Regions from separate parts of the Homo sapiens genome. Here region 1 is linked to region 2. Evidence: promoter capture Hi-C in 16 types of primary human blood cells and fetal thymus (Javierre and others, 2016). All regions are on one chromosome and are shown on one strand. Each heading gives the region's core, a stretch centred on a gene start or on the middle of the fragment in contact. The rest is flanking DNA. Distances are from core to core; before and after follow the strand shown. Region 1 overlaps RPA3 (replication protein A3). Region 2 holds the start of PHF14 (PHD finger protein 14).

Region 1 (4,622 bases), core at 1,031-3,530, 3.3 Mb before region 2:
GAGTGATTTGCTGTTTCTCTGCTTAAGTTTTCTCCGCTTAAGTTTTCTCCAGTAAACCATAGACTTTATACTGTGTGGCCCTTCTGTTATTTGTGTTTGTGTTGGCCTGACAGCTTTAACTTTTTTTGTATTCTTATGTTCCAGGTGTGTCTGTCTTGTAAATAGTGCATATAGCTGGCGATTCATTTTTTCTCTCTTTTGTCCATTTATATTGATTGTGGCTACTGATGTATTATGATTTGTCTTAGTCTATGTAGTGTTGCTATTACAGAATACCACAGACTGGGTAATTTATAAAGAAAATAAAATTGGCAGGGGAATTGGCTCACTCCTGTAATCCCAGCACTTTGGGAGGCCGAGGCAGGTAGATCCCTTGAATTCAGGAGTTCGAGACAAGCCTGGGCAACATGGTGAAAGCCCATCTCTACAAAAAATACAAAAATTAGCTGGCCATGGTGGTGTGTGTGCCTGTGGTCCTAGCTACTTGGGAGGCTGAGGTGGGAGGATGGCTTGAGTTCAGGAGGTGGAGGTTGCAGTGAGCTAAGATCGTGTCACTGTGTTCCAGCCTGGGCGACAGAGTGAGACCCTGTCTCAAAAAAGAAAGAAAGAAAAAAAAAGGCCGGGCGCGGTCGCTCACACTTGTAATCCCAGCACTTTGGGAGGCCGAGGTGGGTGGATCACCTGAGGTCAGGAGTTGAGACCAGCCTGGCCAACATGGCAAAACCCTGTCTCTACTAAAAGTACAAAAATTAGCCAGGCATGGTGGCGGATGCCTGTAATCCCAGCTACTCAGGAGGCTGAGGCAGGAGAATCGCTTGAACCCAGGAAGTGGAGATTGCAGTAAGCCAAGATTGTGCCACTGCACTCCAGCCCGTGCGACAAGAGCGAGACTCCATCTCAAAAAAAAAAAAAAAAAAAAAGAAAAGAAAAGAATAAAAAAGGAAAGGAAATGATGTCTTATAGTTCTAGAGGCTTGGATGTCCAAGGTCCAGGGACCCACATCTGGCAGGGGCTTGTTATGAGGAAGACAGAAAGGCAAGAGACCATGAGAGAAATGTAAGGGAAGGGGACTAACTAATGCTTTTTTTCAGGAAACTACTCCCCCAATAACTTAACCCACTCTAGCAATAATGGCATTAATCCATTTATGAGGTCAGAGCTCTCATAACCTGGTTACCTTTTATAGGTCCCAGCTCTCAACACTGTTGCATTGGCAATTAAGTTTCTAACACATGAACTTTGGGGAACATATTCAAACCACAGCAGGATTAATTTCCACGTCAGTTTTTTGCTTCCTATGTGTTCTGTTTTGTTGTTATTTTTTCCTTTCTTGCCTTCTTTTGCATTGATTTTTTTGTTACTTTTTTCTTCTTTAATGTTATCAGTCTGTGTTAATTTGAATGTTATACATTCTGTATTCTTGTTGGTGGGGGGGCCCACCCTACAAATTTTAACCTGCTGCCATGGTCCGAATGTTTGTCTCTCTCCCCCCACCCAATTCATATGCTGAAATCCTAACCCCTAAGGTGATGGCATATAGTATTAGGAGGTAAGGCCTTTGAGAGGGCACATGAATTGGATTCATGCCCTTATAAAAGAGTCAGAGAGATCCCTTGCTCCTTCAACCATATGAAATTATAGTGAAAAGATGGCTGTCTGTGAACCAGAAAGTGGGCATTCATCAGACACTGAATATACTGGAGCTTTGATCTTACACTTTCCAGCCTCTAGGACTGTGAGAAGTAAATTTCTGTTTATAAGTTACCTAATTCATGGTATTTTGTTATAGCAGCATGGACAGATTAAGAAGCATGCATATTAATCTTGAAGTCGAAAGTTACTTTGGGTCAAGACAGAACCTGTAATTCCATTTACCTTTTCCCAATTTTTATGCTGTTGTCTAGAGATTTAGTTCTGTTTTGATTTCTTGTAATCCCACAATTTACGTTCTTGTAACTCTGCCTAGACATTATTATTGCTTTATGCAGTTAATATTTGCTTGAAATTACCCATATATTTATCATTTTCTTTACTTAATATTTTTACAGCTTCATCAGTTCATGTTTGTTTTTCTGAGTGTTTATTTCATTCGAGTTCTCAAAGCATAGTTTTATTATCTTTCTGTGGTATAGAATTCTAAGTGGATGGTTAATTTCTTCCAAAACTAATGTAATGATAATATTTTACTCTTGTAATGTCTGCTTTGTTTTAAATTGTGATTTTGCTGTAGGCTTACATGTCTCATTATTTGCTTGATCCTCAGTTGTAACAGGATGGTAGTGATGGCTGCAGGACAGTGTGAATGTACCTAATGCCACTAAACCGTACACTTAAAAATTGTTTAAATGATAAATTTTATGTAGTATGTTTATTACCACAGTTAATAAGTAAAACAAAGTTTAAGCTGGTTAAAGTGGCAATGTTACTTGTGCCAAACGCACCTTGATTTACTAATCCAGCCATTCTGCATCCTGAACCCAGAATGGTCCACCTAAAATATCAGACTGATCACTCTCCATCCAGTGATTTCCTCCGGCATCACTGTTAAGTCCAAACTCCTTGGCATGGCATATAAGAAAGACATTCCAGGTTCTGGCCATGGCTTACCTTTACCTTTAATGCTGTCCCTCCCCAACACTTTATTATAACCTTCACTGAGATCTTGGTTAATGTATAGTCAGATTTGTTGTACTCAGGAACCAGCAGAATCCCCATATTTGCTCTCTTAAAAGAGCATTTGTGGTACAAAAAGCCAGGTGCATGACCTTTGAGCAACCCCTCTGTAGCCAAAGAGAAAGCCCAAAGCAATACCAGAGCACATTTTTCTGGTAATATAGCAAATCAGACATTCAGAGAAATCACTCCCTGTACAGTCCATCTAAAAAAGTTGGATTAAATATTTTTAAAAATATATGGCTAAATCAATAAAAGATTTCAAAAATTACATAGAAACCAGAAAGGACAAGGATCTACAAATCCACAAAAGTATATGTTAGTACTAGAGCTAATGTTGGAGAGTTCCCTGAACCTCCTTGCAGGACTTGTGACAAGGGTGGGCTTGGCTTGTCTTTTGGCTGGGGTTTGGGGTTTATAAGGGTACAGGATGGAGGGTGTGGCAGGCCAAAAGGCAACATTTGGGTATGGAAACAGGAATGCCTGTTCCCATTTAGGGCTGTAGGTTTTCAGGCTTGAGGCTGGGGCCTTTGCCAGGGAACTGTCCTCTTCTGTCTCGTATTTTCCTGCCTCCTGTCCATATTATTTTCCCTATGGCCATTGCTTTGGGTACGTATTTTTCCATCCTCATGTTGATCTCATTCTGGTGATCTCTAATTGAAGGAGAGACTGTGTCAGATTACTTTAGTCTCCCTCACTTAACTTTTTATTGCTGGCAGCTTCTTGTTTCTGAGTCTGGTCCTGAAAGTCAGAGGGATGTACACATTTCCTGGTTCACTCAATTCCCAAAGGCTAACAGGCATTCATCATATGTGACTCTGCTGGGTGGAAATTGGGTCTTCCGAGACTCAGATTTTAAAAGGTCTGTGAGTGAGTTGAAGAATTAGGAGCAGTTTACAGTTCTTTGAACTTGAAATTCAACCTTCTTTCTTTCTTCTGCTCAGAGTTTTTCCTGTCTTGTACTCTGTTTTACAGAGTCCTCCTTGGGCAGTTACACACCATTCAAACCACTGCCCTCCTGACTCCTCCCTCTCTCCCCTTGCAAGAGCTGTGACTTCTGAATGGAAGTGGGAGAAGATCTTGTCAGGGAGGGGTAGAAGGAAGGGAGGAAATCTAGTCCTGTAAGACTTTGGGGTCTCCATGCAGTGGGATGTCTGGCAGTCTTTTTTTCTGGTAGATATAGCTCTTGTATTTTATAATTAAGCTCAGGCAGTGGGGATGGACAAAGTATTTTCCACATCTTCTTTGTGGTTCATGCTCCTGTTTTACATTGCTCGTTTGCTCACTTGGCCATTTATTCATTCCTTTGATAGGATTTCCGAGTAAAGCAGTATACTCTTGGTCGATTGTACTTCTTGGTCAATACCCATTGATCATGCAGTTCGTGGAAGTTTGACTCAGACTTTGAGATATGGTCTCTGATTTTCAGTTGATATAGTTATTACCAATTTTTTTAGTGTGTTTCTTTACATACATTTTGTTGTAAAACAGCTGGCTGTCTTGTTTACTCAGCAGTCTGAAGCAAGTCATTAGACAGCTAGCAATATTTTTGACTAGACTAGAATGTGAGTAACATTTTGCATGGTTAATGCATGGTTGATGCTGGTTTTATACAGGACTTAGCACCTTGCTTTGTGCCCATTGACATTGTGAGAGGTGGTAGAGAAGTAGGATAAAGAGGCAGGAAGTAGATTGGTTAATTCCGTGAATTTGGAGAAAGTGACTTGTCTAATTTTGTTTGTCTAGGGCCTACCACAGTGCCTGGCCAATTTTGGGCCCTCAAAAGATGTTGGTTGAATGAATTAAATAGTGAACAAACAAATGACTGAGTGTTAAAAGAAGTTTGTTCTTCAATGGGGAGGAAGTAGTAAGCCTTCTGATGATGCAGTCAGGCTATATTGAAAGTCAAATAATTTTTAGTTGGCAGTTTAGGGAGTGATTCTTTCTGG
Region 2 (4,658 bases), core at 1,666-4,165:
CTCTTTCATGATAAAAACAGTTGGCAAACTAGGAACAGGAAAGTTCCTCCACCTGAAAAAGGGCATCTTTGAAAAACTATAGATAACATAAGACTAAGTGGAAGACTGAAAGTTTTCTTCCTAAAGTCAGAAACAAGACAAAGAAGTCTTTCCCTCACCACATTTATTCAACAATGTTCTGCAGGTTCTAGGCAGAGCAATTAGGCAAGAAAAAGCAATAACAAGCATTCACAAAAGGGAGGGAAAAGTTCAAGCCCCTTCATTTAATATCATTTCCTGGAAGTTGCACGTACTGTTTCTGCTGACATGCAATTGGCCAGAACTTAACTGCATAACTCCAAGCAACATCAAGAAAGTTGGTATATTATGTCTTTATTCTTTGAAAACTTATGCCCAGTTAAAATTTGGAGCTTCCATTTTTGAAGAAAAAGGAGATAATGGGTATTGGGAAACAACCAGCAGTTCTTTCCATGTTTATTGAATGCAGGTCAAAAAAAGGAATTAGGTAATTTTTTTCTTTTCTTTTTACCCTACTTTTCTTCTTCCTTTTTCCCTCCCTCTCTTCCTTCCCTCCTTTTCTCCTTCTTTCCTTCTCTTACTTTCTTTCAATACATGAATTGCAAAAGATTAATAACCTAAATGCAATATTGTCTTCTGGATTGGATCTTGGAACAGAAAAAAGGACATTAGTAGGAAAATTAGTGAAATATAAATAAAGTGTTTAGTCAACAAAACTGTACTCATGTTAGTTTCTTAGTTTTGATAAATGTATTATGGTTATATAAGATACTGATATTAGTGGTAGCTAGGTGAAGGATGTACAAAAACTCAGTATTATTATTGCACTTTTTGGTAAATCTGAAATTACTTCAAAATTAAAAGTTAAAAAAAAATGATTGCTGATATCCAATGGCCACAGGTTTGGAAAACTAGAAAGAATTCTTATCCACTCTTGGTGGTATATATATTAGTACAGACTTTTTTTTTTTTTTTTTTGAGACGGAGTTTCACTCTTGTCACCCAGGCTGGAATGCAGTGGCGTGATCTCTGCTCACTGCAACCTCTGCCTCCCAGGTTCAAGTGATTCTCCTGCCTCAGCCTCCCAAGTAGCTGGAATTACAGGTATGTGCCACCACGCCCAGCTAATTTTTGTATTTTTAGTAGACACGGGGTTTCATCATGTTGGGCAGGCTGGTCTCGAACTCCCAACCTCAAGTGATCCACCCGCCTCAGCCTCCCAAAGTGTTGGGATTACAGGCGTGAGCCACCGCACCCGGCAGTACAGTTTTTCTAGAGCAACTAGGTGTTATTTATTAAAGTAAATGAATTAATACATTTTGATTCTGAAAATCTCCTTCTAGAAATTAGTTTTACATAAACACGAATGCCAGATTTTGAATTTCTCTTTTAGATGATTCAGCATAATTGCTCCAAATAAATCTAAAAGGCTATTGTCAAACAGTGGAATATTTGGATTTATAATTTCATAGATAAGACTATCAGTCCATGATATGGTTGGTGTTTAAAGTAGAATGGAAGTGAAATTCCCAGAGTGGAGTTTTTAAAATAACCAAGTTCCTAGGATTTTAACTGGAAGAATAAATATCTGAAAGGCAATGAGGAGTATTAAGCATGGGATGCCACTTCTGCACCTTGAGAAAATGAAGTATGGAAGGATGAGTGGTTTTCATTTGAGAGGGCTGCAGGGTAACTGTTTCTATTTCAGATGAGGAGGTAAAAAGAATGGGCATTGAAAAGGAAAAATGTTTACTAAGTAGGTTATACATTTTGGAATAGAAGTTTCTATAGCACAATAGAAAAGTTTGAGAGGTCACATGGCAATGATAGTTTGGGTGAGAGTGAGGCAGGAGAATAGGGTGTGGAGGCAGGGAACCTAAGGATGTGTCACTCCGACTTCCTAAGAACTAAATTGAAAGGAAACCCCTAACTTTCCATGCCTAAGTAACAAAAGGACCAGAGGCTACTCCCTTTGCAAACCCCCACTTTTTCTGCAGGGCAGATGGGAAATTGGCTGTGGGCAGCAAATCAGACTGATTGCAGGAGAGTCTTCCTTTGCATAGAAGTATCACTTTGTAACTTCACCATCTGCAAGAAATCAAACTGATTGCAGGGGAAATCTTCCTTTGCATAGAGGTATACCACTTTGTAACTTCACCCTAGCCTCTGATTGATTGCTTTTTGCACCAATGTTTGCACAGGAGCATGACCTTTGTAACTTCACTTCAGCCTCTGGTTGGCTGCTTTCTGCAACCAATCAGACTGATTGCGCGTTACTTCATTTACATGAGGTGAGCATTAGGTGGCCAATAGGAAGCTTCTAGAGGGTATTTGGACTCAAGATTCTGTATCCGGGCCCTTGAGCCGCTGCTCAGGTCGCTTCCGTACAGAGCGTGCTTTAATTTTCAATAAGTCCCTGCTTTTGTTGTTTTGTTGCTTCATTCTTTCTTTGCTTTGCTGGGCGTTTTGTCCAATTCTTTGTTAAAAACGCCAAGAACCTGGACAACTTGCAGTCACGATCCTCTACCGGTGACAATATCATTTAAATATTGGTAGTGGCTTAAGGTAGCAAACATCCCTTTGTGGAACGTTTACTCAGTAAATCCTTAAAAAACAGATCAGAAACAAAAACTGGCCTCCCAGGGATTTGGACTCAGGAGGTGAATTAGGCGCGGAGAGGGCGGAGCCTTTGGGGTTTATGGGCGGAATTGCACAGGGTTTGGCGGGGATCTCTGCTCCGCCTTGGCACTACTCGGCTCCGCTCGCCTCCGCGCGGCTCCCTGGGCTTTCACTCGGCTCTGTTCGGCTCCTGCTCGGGAAGGGTGCGCGGGGGCGAGTCCTGCGCATGCGCCCTCAATTCCTGCTGCTCTCAGGGCTGCGCTCAGCCTCGTGTTTTCACTTCCTTTTCAGAGCTGTATCCGGGTCGCTGCTTTCCCTATTGTCTGAGGCAGCCGCCCTCGCGCTGTGCAATTTCTGGTCTTTCGTTGCTTCTGGTCCAGGCTAATAAAGTTTTTCTTTCTTTAATTTTTTTTCTTCTAGTTTTAACGGGAGAAATTAACTCCCCGGGGCCGCCGGGTTGACTGCGCTGCCTGGGCCGGAGGTCTTCTCCGGCCAGGGAGCGCTGTGGGAAGGGGCTCGAGCGGCCAGGGCCAGGCGAGGCCGGGGGGGCGGGGGGTTAGGGGACCGCGGGGCTACTCTTGGGAGCGCCCCTGTCCGGCTGGCTGCGCGCCGGTTTTAAATAGCATCTTTCGGACTTGTCTTCGCGGCCCCAGTCCCCGACCTCGGCGCTGCCTGGGCTCCTGCAGCCTCTCCCTAAGTCTTCTCCAAACGACCACCTCACGGATTCCTTAGTAAGTGTATCCGAGGCCTCTGCGGCGAGAGGTCCATTTCAGCCATTCTAGAAGTCAGGGCCGGTGGGAGCAGGGCAGGGGTGGGAGAGTCCTGCGGGAAAGCAGGATTGGTGGACCCTCGCCCTCCATGGTCCGCGGGAATGAAGCCCGCTTGTTTTATTCCCTGATTTTTGCCGTTTTTATTGACTGTTACGATGTCTAAGTGGGGGATTACGAGGAAGGTGCAGAAACATCTCGAAAAGATGAGCAAGAGGGTCAGCTTCGATTTTAGCTGGTCTGAGTTGGCGTTGGCAGCATCAGGGCTGGAGCTGCCTTTGAAACTGCCCGTGGAGCTGTCCAGCCCTCCCCACCCTGCTTCTGCACCCCAACCTTCTCCTGACCCCTTTTGCTGAGAACTCAGTTAGACAAAAATTCCTTGTGCGAGGTCATCTTTATGTTCTCTTAGCACCACAACTCTCCCCTGTGTTTGGTGTGATTATGAATGACAATGTAATTTTTTTCTCTTCACAGTGGATCGCAGCTCCAAGAGGAGGCAGGTGAAGCCTTTGGCAGCTTCTCTGCTGGAAGCTCTTGATTATGATAGTTCAGATGACAGTGATTTTAAAGTTGGAGATGCCTCAGGTAAATATTTCCTTCTCTCTTCCCCTTTCCCAGCTTTCTGGAGTTAGGCTTATTTTTAGACTTTTTAAATCGGTTTTGATTAAAATGCCAATTTTAAGTGAAAGCACGTAAACTTCATTTATTTTGTCCATTTGATTTCCCATTTTGCCTTTAGATCCTGTCACTAGACCTATAATTGCTTCTGTTTTCCTCAGAGATAATTAGCAGTCAGGGGAAGGACTTTTTCCAAAGATGCAAAAGGATTTCTCTGTTTTACACCTTAAAATATATTTATGCTTATATTATAGAGGAAAAAACTGAAAGATATCCCGAAGTAGAAAAGTATCCTGAGAGGTGTGTGGACCATTAATAGTCCCTGAGCAGGGTTCTTCTTTTTTCAGATCACTTGACAATCTCTTAGGGGAGTTTTGCTTTTTTTGTGTATTAGCTCTTTTACTAGAATAAAATTGACCAGAGTAAGAGTTGCACTTCAAATTATAGTAGGTGCTGGACCTTGTGGATTGGGCCTTTCAGATGTCTCTGAAGTATAAGTCATGCATGCTTGCTCACTATATTTAGTAATTTTAAAAACTTTTTTTAAAGGTCGTATATTCACATTGTACTAAACTGGAAAACAGAAAAGTATGATTTTCCTTTGTATTTTCTGTTCAGTGTACCTTATGTATATAT

Evidence for each region. Contacts are between HindIII fragments. The CHiCAGO score rates a contact against its expected background, and 5 or more counts as called.
Region 1: a fragment that was not itself captured here is called in contact with the fragment with the promoter of PHF14 in region 2 in 1 of 17 cell types (non-activated CD4 T cells); the score reaches 6.6 in non-activated CD4 T cells.

The regions. Positions count from the first base shown.
Region 1 is chr7:7,648,260-7,652,881 of GRCh38, forward strand. The region is part of intron 4 of RPA3 (replication protein A3); the gene reads right to left. The region is part of intron 1 of UMAD1 (UBAP1-MVB12-associated (UMA) domain containing 1); the gene reads left to right. Among named protein-coding and RNA genes, the nearest start is that of UMAD1, 9.8 kb to the left of the region's middle. The HindIII fragment of the contact is 9,583 bases long and covers 1-4,622 here.
Region 2 is chr7:10,970,957-10,975,614 of GRCh38, forward strand. It overlaps PHF14 (PHD finger protein 14), which reads left to right and starts at 2,916. Exons shown (of 18, transcript NM_001007157.2): 1 at 2,916-3,368; 2 at 3,879-3,989. The coding sequence starts at 3,368. RefSeq lists silencers at 2,111-2,160, 2,671-2,730, 3,711-3,760 and an enhancer at 2,686-2,980. The HindIII fragment of the contact is 4,357 bases long and covers 2,334-4,658 here.